Linked DNA regions of Homo sapiens: region 1 is linked to region 2. The links are contacts of gene promoters, found by promoter capture Hi-C in human tissues and cell types (Jung and others, 2019). All regions are on one chromosome and are shown on one strand. The core of a region is centred on a gene start or on the middle of the fragment in contact, and the rest is flanking DNA. Distances in the headings are between cores, read along the strand shown.

Region 1 (6,036 bases), core at 3,055-5,554, 490 kb after region 2:
ACATATACATGTGGAAGCATAAATACACATGTAAGGGTGTGTGTGTGTGTTTGTGTGTGTGTGTGTGTGTTTACGGCAGCAGCTAATTGATCCCTGCCTCCCAGTTGCTGTGGGGGAAGGGGCCGAGAAGGCAGTCACTCATTAGAGGCAACTAATGGGCCCAAATGGCCTTGTCAGCAAAGGCTGAGCTTAGATGAGCTTCCTCCCGAAGTGGGGAAGGAAAAAGATGTGAAATAGAAAAAGGAGGGGAGAAGAGAGCAAAGAAGGCGGGCAGAGGCCTCAGAAAGAATGAGGCTTCCCCAGGAGAAACTACAAGGATTGCAGTATCCTCACTTTATCCCTGTTAATAAATATTCCTCCTGCCAAGAGAAAAAGTTCCTGCTTTTTCTGACCCAAGGAAGTAGAGGGCAGAAAACTGTCAAGGGAAGAAAGGCAGACACATGTGTATTCCCATGCCCACAAGCACAGGTGTGCTAGCTGCATGCATATGGCCACACTGAGACGCAAGCATGTGGGCTATGTCGATGTGCAGTCTCAACACTTGTCATGCACGTGCTTACCCAGAGACACCCCCCCCACACACCAGCCTGAGCATAGGGAAGTGTGGGCATGTGCCTGGCACGGGAAGGTGTATGCGCATTCACCCAGGGGTGCTGGCTCTGTGTTGGTGCAAGGGAGACAAAAATGAGGAGGACACAGTCCCTGTCCCCCAGCTGACATTTTATTTTATTTTATTTTATTTTATTTTATTTTATTTTATTTTATATTTATTTTGTTTTATTTTTGAGATGGAGTTTCGCTCTTGTTGTGCAGGCTGGAGTGCAGTGGCATGATCTCGGCTCACTGCAACCTCCACTTCCTGGGTTCAAGTGATTCTCCTGCCTCAGCCTCTTGAGTAGCTGGGACTACAGGCGTGTGCCACCACACCCATCTAATTTTTTTGTATTTTTAGTAGAGATGGACTTTCACCATATTGGCTAGGCTGGTCTCGAACTCCCAGCCTCAGGTGATCTGCCCACCTCAGCCTCCCAAAGTGCTGGGATTACAGGCGTGAGCCACCGTGCCTGGCCCTCCAATGGACATTGTAGTTGGGAAGAGGTTGCTTGCTAAGGAAACGGATCATTTATATGATGACACAGGGTGTACTGGAAAGATGCCCAGCGTGACTGTAGTCCCCGCTACTTGAAGGGTGACATGGGAGGATTGCTTTAGCCCAGGAGGTCAAGGCTGCAGTGAACCCTGATGATGCCACTGTACTCCAGCATGGGCAAGAGGAGGAGACACCATCTCTAAAGAAAAAGAAATTAAATTAAAATAAAATTGTGTGTGTGTGTGTTTGGTCTGTCACCCAGGCTGGAGGGCAGTGGCAAGATCATAGCTCACTGCAGCCTCGAACTCCTGGGCTCAAGCAATCCTCCCACCTCAGTCTCCAGAGTAGCTGGGACTACAGGCACACATGCCACCATGCTTGGCTAAATTGTTTATTTTATATTGTGTAAAGATGGGAGTCTTGCATGTTGCCCAGGCTGGTCTCAAACTCCTGGCCTCAAGCAATCCTCCTTCCTCGGCCTCCCAAAGTACTAGGATTACAAGCATGAGACACTGCACTCAGCCAAAATACAACACATATTAATAACCAGAATTAAGAATTTCCAACACATTAATAAGAAAAATATTTTTGAAACCCCAGTTTTTAAAATAGGCAACTGGGCACGGTGGCTCACCCCTGAAATCCCAGCACTTTGGGAAGCTGAGGCAGGTGGATCACCTAAAGTCAGGAGTTCAAGACCAGCCTGGCCAACATGGCGAAACCCTGTCTCTACTAAAAATACAAAAATTAGCTGGGTGTGGTGGCAGGCACCTTTAACCCAAGCTACTCGGGAGGCTGAGGCAGGAGAAGCTCTTGAACTTGGGAGGCAGGGGTTGCAGTGAGCCCGGATCGCCCACTGCATTCTAGCATGCATGACAGAGTGAGACTTTGTCTCCAAAGATAAAAATAAAAATAAAATGGGCAAAGTATATGAAGAGGTGACTTACAGAAATAAAAACACAATGTCCAATGAACTTAGGAAAATATGCTCAACATGAGAGAAATGCAATCATAATTTGAGAACTACAAATTAAAATAGACATAAGATTTGTTTTAGCTTCATCCATTGGATTAGCAAAAATTCAACGTACTGACAGTATCCAGCATGGGAGAGAGTGTGTACGTAAGTTGGTCTTCTCATCCTCTCTTGGAAGTGCCCTGAATTGGTTCAGTCTTCTTGATAGGTATTTTGGCAGTTTCTATTAAAATTAACAATACCCATCTTCATTTGACCAACTCTATTTCTAGATATCCATTATCCTAACAAAATAGCCATGTCTGCCCACAGAACCACATACCAGAGAGTTCACTAAGCAAATTTACAACAATGAAAAATCAGAAGCAACCTAACAGTCCACCAGTGGGAATGGGTGAATAAACAGTGGCACCCCCATCTATGGAATACTTAAGGTGAAGCAATTAAAAATAATGAGGTAGACCTCCATGTTCTGATATGGGAAAATGTGCATGCCATATTTTCATTCCAAGCCATATATATAGATAGATAGATACATTTTTTTTTGAGATGGAGTCTAGCTCTGTCACCCAGGCTGGAGCGCAGTGGCACGATCTCAGCTCACTGCAACCTCCACCTCCCAGGTTCAAGTGATTCTCCTGCCTCAGCCTCCCGAGTAGCTAGGATTACAGGCACCCGCTACCATACCTAGCTAATTTTTGTATTTTTAGTAGAGACGGTGTTTCACTGTGTTGGCCAGGCTGGTCTCAAACTCCAGACCCCATGATCCGCCTGCGTCGGCCTCCCAAAGTGCTGGGATTACAAGCGTGAGCCACCGCTCACTGGAAAAGCAAATTGCAGAAAAACAAAAATACTCAGGTACAAAGGTAAAAACCCAACAAAAAAATCGTATGTTTCTCCTTGAATAATATATACATGTAGGTAAATGCGTAGGAAATGATCTAGAAGGATACACAGTGAATTGACCACAGCAGTGACCTCTGCAGATGATTCTGGAATTGGAAGGATTATTTCATCTGTATTTCTTACAACAAGAATGCATTTTTAGTTTACTTTTGAAATTTAAAGTAAATTTAAATAAATGTGGTTCATTTGAATAAATGAATTAACAAAAGTTTCAGCAGTGAGTCTTGACATACACAAACACGAGGCACTAAGATTTTTATTCATTGCATGAAGAAAGAGGCCCCTTTTTGGCAGCAATTCTGCTTTAGCAAATGTCACAAGGACCCGCCTCCCATTCCACCCCTGGAATGTTAAAATTGGGGGCTGTCTAGACTGTTAGAGGGCTAAAGACCTTCAGTTTACACAGGTAAGGAAAGATGGCCAGGGCCCAAGTCATAGCTTCAGAAAGATCACAAAAGGCCCATGGAAGGCGGAGAGTGGCAAGGTGACTGTATTCTTGTTTGACTTGCAATTTGTCATCTTAGGGACAAGTCCAGGCCCAGGGGCTCATGGCTGTACTCACAGCACCTGGATTCGGTCCTAGTAATTCATGATAAATATTGAGTGACTGCTGGCACTAACAGTCACTTACATCAGGCAGCTCTTTGCAGTTGATACAATCCTGCCTTGCACATTTCCTCATTTGTTCCTCATAACCTCTGAGAGGTAGCTTCTACTGCCATCCCCATGTCACAGATGAGGAAACTGAAGTTCAGAGAGGTCAGACTTGGCCACGTTCACTCAGATAACAAGAGGCAGAGCAAGACTCAACTGCAGTCCTTTTGACCTCCTATCCCTAACTCCACTGTGGCAAAATCCCCCTGGGGTTACCATCTGCTCCCTCCCTCAGCTTTCTGGGTATGAGCCTTAGCCCTGGCCTGACATTTTCTCTGGGAAAAATCCAGTGAGGCTGATCCTAGGCAGAGGACTTAACTGAGCCTTGGTTGCTGATGAGGACTATGACAGGCAGTGCAGTTCAGTGGTGAAGATGCACGAGGCTCCAGTCCCAATTCCTAGCTGAGTGACCTTGGGCAAGTTATTTAACATCTTTGCCTATTTCTTCATCTGTAAAATAAGAATAGGAGAACCTGGCCAGTCACAGTGGCTCACGCCTGGAATCCCAGCACTTTGGGAGGCTGGGGCAGGTAGATCATTTGAGGTCAGGAGTTTGAGATCATCCTGGCCAACATAGCGAAACCCCATCTCTATTAAAAATACAAAAATTAGCCAGGCAGTAGTGGAGTGTGCCTGTAATCCCAGCTTCTCAGGAGGCTGAGCAGGAGAATGGCTTGAGCCTGGGAGGGGGAGGTTGCGGGTGAGCCGAGATCGCACCACTGCACAATCTATCTCTTGGAGATGTGAACATACACTGAGATAATACATATAAAGTCCTTAGTTTGGTGCCCAACATACTATTAGCTCTCACCAGATGCTCAAGATGATGGCAATTGATTACAGAATGGCCCTCCCAGCCTAGTGAGTGTGACTTGAATCTCAGTCTTACTGCACACTTGCACCGTAGAAAGAGCTATACCAGAGAGAGATGTGACAGAGCAGCCTGGGAACTGCAAAGCAGTTACTTGGTTAGGGGATTCTGAGCCAACATTTAGCTGACAAAAGGGAAAAATAAGGTCCCCAAACAGGAGAACAGGCCAAGTGTCCTTGGAGTGGGTAGACAGAGCTCAATGTGGGGAGGGGTCTGTGGTCAAGGTCAGGATGGGACTGGTGTGCCAAGCAGAGATGTCAGGAGAAATGGCCTGCGGGAGGTCTTTAGGGGGCACTTAGGGTTCACAAGGAGAGTCACCAGATGGGATCCAAGAGCAAGGGTGCCATTTGGATGCAGATTTCTCTTCATCTGGGCTTCCTTCTCTGGAAGGGAGCCAGAGAGGAAAAAAATGGAGAGCCAAGGTATGCAGAAGACCGAATCCCCAAAGCAGCCTCTAAGCCTTGGCAACTGCTGACAGGGAGCCTCCAGAGTCACTCAAAGTCAAGGAGAAGGGCTCTCCAAGGCACCAGTTCCATAACGCATTTCAGGCAGCTTCCTGTAGCCTCTCTCCCACCCTGGTCCCACAAGAAGCTAAGCCAAACAATGATCAGACCATAGAGTCAGTAGATGTGGAAGGAAGCTTCAGAGCCAACCAAGATGGGCACGCCTCTTCACCAGTTGCCAAGTCAGTAGCCAGCTCAGGGGTTACTCTGGAGCCTCCCTCATCTTCCCCCTCAGCCTCCACCCAACTGATCACTGAGTCTTCCACAAGACTACTAACTTCTCTCCCTCTGCACCCACCTCATTAGCCCAGGCCACCACCTTTCACCTGGAATGTGGCAACAGCCTCCTGGCTGATGTCTGATCCTCTGATGCATGATCCATCATCTCCCACATGGCCACAATAATACACCTTTCTAAAATATGTATCTGAACAAGCTTTCCCTCTGTTTAAAACCCTCTGGTGGCTCCTCATTGCCATGGCATCAAGTTTGAGCTCCTTGTCACAGTTTATAAGGTCCCTGCCTTCTTCTCTGGTCTTGTCTTATTATTCACCATCTCTTAATTTATGCTCCGATTGGCCAGAACTTCTATAACTCCTCAGGCTCTCACCCCAGAACTAGTCAACCGGAATCTGCATTTTAACAAGATCCCCTCGTGATTTGGATGCGCATTAAAGTTTGAGAAACACAGCTCTAGGCTAGTAGCTCCAAAATTCCCTAATAATTAGAATCATCTGTGGTATTTATTAAAAATGCAAATTACAGGGCCCTATCTTAGACTCACCCAATGACAATTTCCAGGGGAGGGAGCCTGGGAAGCTGTGTATTTAACACAATACATTTCAATACCTGAATACACTTCAATACTTGAAGCGTCCCAAGTGATTCTTCTCAGCAAGGATGCTTGGGAAACATCAGCAGTGGTTCTCAAGCTTGGCTGCACATTAGAATCACCTGGGAGAGCTTTAAACCTATATTTATTTTATTTTGTCATTTTATTTGCTTTTTTAGAGACTATCTGGAGTGCAGTGGCGTG
Region 2 (5,844 bases), core at 1,477-3,976:
TCCTGTGGTGAATTAATGGCACAGCTGGAAGTATCCAACTGTGGCAACATGGATGAACCTTGAAGCGTTACACTAAGTGAAATACACCAGTTACAGAAAGACAAATATTGTATGATTCCACTTAGACGAGGTTCCTAGAGCAGTCAAATTCATAGACAGAAAGTAGAATGGTGGTTGCCAGGGGATGGGAGGAGGAGGGAATGAGGAGTTGGCATTTGGTGGGTACAGAATTTCACTTGAGCTGAGTGTAGTGGCACATGCCTGTAGTCCCAGCTATTCAAGAGGCTGAGGTGGGAGGACTACATGAGCCTAGGAGTTCAAGGCTGCAGTGAGCTATGATCGTACCCCACAGCCTGGGTGACAGAGCAAGACCCTGTCTCTAAAAAAAAAAAAAAAAAAAGAATTTCCGTTGAGAAAGATTAAAAAGTTCTGAAGATGGTGGTGATAGTTGCACAACAATGTGAATGTACTTAATGCCACAGAACTGTACACTTAAAAATGATTAAAATGCTAAATTCTGTTATGTATTTATTACCACAATAAAAACAAAAACCACTGTCCTATGAGAAAATGTCCTAAATCTTTAGCAAGGCATAAGAGATCTATCACAATATGTCCCAACTTATCTGTCATCTCTCTTCATTTTCCACAACTTCCCCTCATTGCTCCTTGAGAAAAGGGACCTTTTTATTCTCGCTTCCATCCTGGCACCTAGAATAGTACCTGACATAGTTATAGGTGGTTTGTTCTGACTGAGTGACTGCTTTAACATTACTAAACATTTTGTTATTCCTCTAGTAATCAGGCACGTACCTTCACACCTTCACATAGGGTCCTTATATGTGAGTTGTTCTTTGAATAGCTATCCCCTCTTCTTCACTCAGCAAACGCCTATTAATTCTTTTTTTTTTTTTTTTTTCCAGTTTTTTTGAGACAGGGTCTCGCTCTGTCGCCCAAGCTGGAGTGCACTGGCATGATCTCGGCTCACTGCTGCGTCTACCTCGCTGGCTCAAGCGATCCTCTGGCCTCAGCCACCACAAGTAGCTGGGACTACAGGCATGTGCCATGATGCACGGCTTATTTATTTTTTTGTCTGAGACACAGTCTCACTCACTCTGTCACCCAGGCTGGAATGCAGTGGTGTGATCTCAGTTCACTGCAACCTCCATCTCCCGGGTTCAAGCGATTCTCCTGCCTCAGCCTCCAGAGTAGCTGGAATTACGGGTGCGCACCACCACACCTGGCTAATTTTTTTGTATTTTTAGTAGCGATGGGGTGGTTTCATCATGTTGGCTAGGCTGGTCTCGAACTCCTGGCCTCAAGGGATCCGCCCACTCGGCCTCCCAACATGCTGGGATTACAGGCGTGAACCACCACATCCGGCCATAATTTCCGTATTTTTTGTAGAGATGAGGTTTGGCCATGTTGCCCAAGCTGGTCTCGAACTCCTGAGCTCAAATGATCCGCCCACTTTGGCCTCCCAGAGTGCTGGAATTACGGGCGTGAGCCACTGTGCCTGACCTTATTAATTCTTTAGGACCCAGAAACATCATCACTTCTGTTGGGTCTTCCTCCAAAGAGATGTCACTTACACCTTCACTCTTTCCTACCATTTTATACAAGACTACAACCTCTATTTAACGCTTCTTATTATTTAAGTACATGTTTTTCCCAACCACTCTGAGTCCTGGGACAACATATCTTTTTCTTTCTGTTCTAGTTTAGAGCTTGGCACATAGTAAAAGTCTTCCTAAATGTTGCACGAACGAGTAAATGATTTTAATTTCCACAAACTCCAGGCTTCCCTGATTGGCCCCTGCCTGTGAACATGAGTCACCAGTTGTTATCTTGAAAGCCTCAGGAACTTCAGACGCAATTCATCCTGGCTACCCAGTGGGTCCAGAAAGGACCCAAGTGCACAAAGGGGCCGGCATCGGCCAATCCTAGGGTGGGGAAAAGTTAGGTATCCATGCCCCTGTGCCCACTTCTTCCAGGCACAGCCCTTGGTTCTTGCTCTAGCTCCCCTAAAGACACAGAAAATATTTAGAAGTTCACTTAACAAAAATATTACAGCTGGAAAGGACCTCAGAGATAACAATGGTAGTCCATCCACTTCATTTTATAGATGAGGAAAGTGAGGCCCAAACAAGTAAAGGAGCCGACTGAAGCGCCCGTGGTGAATTAATGGCACAGTCGGAACTAGAGCCCAGGCCTCTCTCCTCTCTAAAGTCTAAAACATTCTTGGATTTCAGTTTCCTCTTCTGTAAAACGGGGTGAAAATTAGCCTCTCAGGACAGTGGTGAGGAGCAAATGAGATAATGAATGTAAAAGAAATTACTATATTAGCAACAGAAATCAGAGCGGAGCGAGATGGTGTAGAGGAATCTAAGGGGTGTCCGGAGACATGTGTTCCAGTCATGTCATCTCTGTGAACCTCAGTCTCCTCATCTGCAAATGCAGGACCTGGCCCGGCTGACCGCCGAGACCCTTCCAGCTCTGCCGACCCAGGCCCTGAGGCCCTTCCCGGAGGGCCGGACCCTGAGGGAAAAAAACGAAGGAGCCCGTGGGGACCCTCGAGTTACCGTCCTGCAGCAGCGCAGTCTTCTGGGCTGTCCGCAGACTCTCCAACCAGCCCGTCACCGCCATCTTTCCCCTGCTAAGCAGCACGCCCAGCCGCTGCCATGGCAACCGTTCCAGAGGGTCACTTCCGGCTGACTCGGAAGCTATTCTGGCCATTTGCCCTCCTTCCCCCCTTCGTCCGCTCTCATTGGCTCTGCTGGTAAGTGGTCTATTCCTGCCCACCCCCGGGTGACTAGCTTGGCCAGTAGTCGACCCCACCCGGGGACCGACTCTGGGGGTTGGAGAGACTCTTGGGGCCGGGGTCGGGCACTCCAGCTTTCTTCTAGCCCCGAGCTGGGATTCCCTGGCCTGCGCCAGCTGCGTACACGGCGAGTACACCGCACCTGCCCGGGACTTCACCCGCAGCTGCGAGACTCCTCCATTCCCGGAGGGCTCCCCACACCTGCTGCGGCCGTGCCCCATCTCCCCGCAGCTGCGGCGCTGAGCACCCCCATGTCGAGAGGCTGAGACCAGGACAGGTGCAGGGCGTTCCCACTCACCCCCGAAAGTCCTCCTCCTTCCTCTGCGAGTCTGTGTTGGAGGTAGAGAAATAGTATGTGGGGTTTATGTGCAGGTCCTCCCCAGGCTCCGCTCCATCCCCTAAAGCTCCATTTCCTAGCCCAGCATCCCATTTGGTAAAGCCCTTCGAAGTGGGCCGCAGCAGGGCTGTGCTGAATCTTTAGCGCAACCCCTCTGAGGAATGGTGTCGTTTCCTACTCCTCAAAAGTACCCCCGATGGCACCAGCCTTCCCCTCATTTCCCGTAATACTCCAACTTCGAAAGGCTGGGGAGTGTGAAGCTAGGCTAAACCACTGAAGTTTAACCGGGTTTGAAGAGACCCCCTCCCCCGACCCGCTTCCCCAAACTGGGCTGCTACCCCCAAAGCCTGGTCAGGAAAGACCCTACCTCCATAGGCAAAGGGGTTGGAGGGCCTCAATTCTGGATTTCCACGTGCAGCAGCCCTGACCAACGCTCCAATAGGCCGGGATCCAGCCATACTTCAATGGATCCCAGGGGTATCTTGAAGGCATTTCCCAAGCGGCAGAAAATTCATGCTGATGCATCATCAAAAGTACTTGCAAAGATTCCTAGGAGGGAAGAGGGAGAAGAAGCAGAAGGTGAGCTGACCCAGTCTCAGAACCCTCGTGTGCTTGAACCCACAGCCTTCATGTGCTTCAGCCCTACGTTGTTTATGTCCAGAATCAGATATTGGAGCTGACTCTGCCTGTCCAGGGCCTGCAGGTCTGTTTGTATCTACCTTGTGCTAAGCTTGGTCCTGGGTCTTGGACAGGCTATTTGCTGTGTTACCTTCTTTTCTACCCGAAGACCTCTATCCATCAGAAAAGACTCCCTGGGCCCTCAGGGAATGACCAGTATAATTTTTGCCCTGAGGACTGGGACAGAAACCCCCCTCCATTACCCAGGCTTGTTGTTAGTTGTTTTGCAGCCAAATTGGCAAATAAATGGCAGAGGCTTTGGAGGCAGGGTTGTCGGGTCTGTCAGACTGTAAGGGCAAGAAACGCGCTTTGTTGAAAGAATAAATGATAAAGGATTCAAAGTATGGAGAGAGGCTGGGCGCGGTGGCTCTTGCCTGTAATCTCAGCACTTTGGGAGGCCGAGGCAGGCAGATCACCTGTGCTCAGGAGTTCGAGACCAGCTTGGGCAACATGGCGAAACCCTGTCTCTACTAAAAATACAAAAAATTAGCCAGGCATGGTGGCACACGCCGGTAATCCCAGCTACTCGGGAGGCTGAGGCATGAGAATCGCTTGAACTCGGGAGATGGAGGTTGCAGTGAGCCAAGACGATGCCACTGTACTCCAGCCTGGGCGACAGAGTGAGACTGTCTCCAAACAAAAACAAAACAAAAGAAAACAAAACAAACAAACAAAAAACAAAGTAAGAAGGGAGGAGGCATTCATTAAACAAATATTTACAGGTTACTTACAATGTGCCAGACACTTCTAGATTGCACCAAGGAACAGGACGTATGAAAATCCTTGTCCCTTACATTCAAGTGCTGGCCTGTGAGAAAATTTGCTATATGTAGAAGGAAAGCTGTCTGGATGGAAGGGAAATGCTTATTTTCAGGGTAGGGGACTGTGAACACGTCATTCAGATCATGTTAGAAGTTATGTCGTGGCCAGGGGGTGGCAGATAAAAATTAAAAAGTTACAACAGTAGTCATCTGGATGTTCCTTCCACAGAGTGGCTGAGCTCCCTTCGGGCCCATGTTGTGCGCACTGGCATTGGACGAGCCCGGGCAGAACTCTTTGAGAAGCAGATTGTTCAGCATGGCGGCCAGCTATGCCCTGCCCAGGGCCCAGGTGTCACTCACATTGTGGTGGATGAAGGCATGGACTATGAGCGAGCCCTCCGCCTTCTCAGACTACCCCAGCTGCCCCCGGGTGCTCAGCTGGTGAAGTCAGCCTGGCTGAGCTTGTGCCTTCAGGAGAGGAGGCTGGTGGATGTAGCTGGATTCAGCATCTTCATCCCCAGTAGGTGGGCTGATCCCAGTCTTTTTTTCAAATGTTTTCTAGTAGCATCTTGAGCTCTTTTCTTGAATTATTAAAAATAACTATCATTAATTAAAAAATTAGCCAGGCATGGTGGGGTGTGCCTGTAGTCCCAGCTATAAGAGGTTTAGGTGGGAGGATTGATTGAGCCAGGGAGGTTAAGGCTGCAGTGAGCCTTGATCGTACCACTGTACTCCAGCCTGGGTGACAGAGCAAGACCCTGTCTCAAGAGAAACTCCAAAAACCTCAAAAAACTCGTTTTCTTAATTGGACACACTGGGAAACCAAGTATTTCAGAGTACAGAAGGACTGGGGACAGATACAGGGTGAGACCTTTGGTGTCTTAACCTCCCATCACCATCCCCACAGGTACTTGGACCATCCACAGCCCAGCAAGGCAGAGCAGGATGCTTCTATTCCTCCTGGCACCCATGAGGCCCTGCTTCAGACAGCCCTTTCTCCTCCTCCTCCTCCCACCAGGCCTGTGTCTCCTCCCCAAAAGGCAAAAGAGGCACCAAACACCCAAGCCCAGGTCAGGAGCCTCCCATCCCTCAGAACTCCCTTCCCCTAGGAAGCAGATCACAGAAATGGGGTGGGCCTGGTGGCTGTTCAGAAAGTCCCAGGCCCCTGAGAGAGGAGGGCTCTATTGTGAAGCCATTTAGCTCTTCCCAACACTCATCACTGCTGCATTTATCTAGGCCATATCTAA

What was found. Contacts are between HindIII fragments. The study calls those that stand out against the background at their distance.
Region 1: a contact is called between a fragment that was not itself captured here and the fragment with the promoter of POLL in region 2, in 1 of the 25 tissues and cell types used here (lymphoblastoid cells).

Annotation. Positions count from the first base shown.
Region 1 is chr10:101,101,119-101,107,154 of GRCh38, reverse strand. All of the region lies in intron 2 of TLX1NB (TLX1 neighbor), which reads left to right. Among named protein-coding and RNA genes, the nearest start is that of TLX1NB, 27 kb to the left of the region's middle. The HindIII fragment of the contact is 7,471 bases long and covers 569-6,036 here.
Region 2 is chr10:101,585,139-101,590,982 of GRCh38, reverse strand. POLL (DNA polymerase lambda) reads left to right here and starts at 2,726. Exons shown (of 9, transcript NM_001174084.2): 1 at 2,726-3,161; 2 at 3,577-3,737; 3 at 4,827-5,121; 4 at 5,505-5,667. The coding sequence starts at 3,623. It overlaps DPCD (deleted in primary ciliary dyskinesia homolog (mouse)), which reads right to left and starts at 2,662. Exons shown (of 6, transcript NM_015448.3): 1 at 2,583-2,662. The coding sequence starts at 2,646. RefSeq lists enhancers at 2,377-2,706, 2,807-3,086. The HindIII fragment of the contact is 10,926 bases long and covers 1-5,524 here.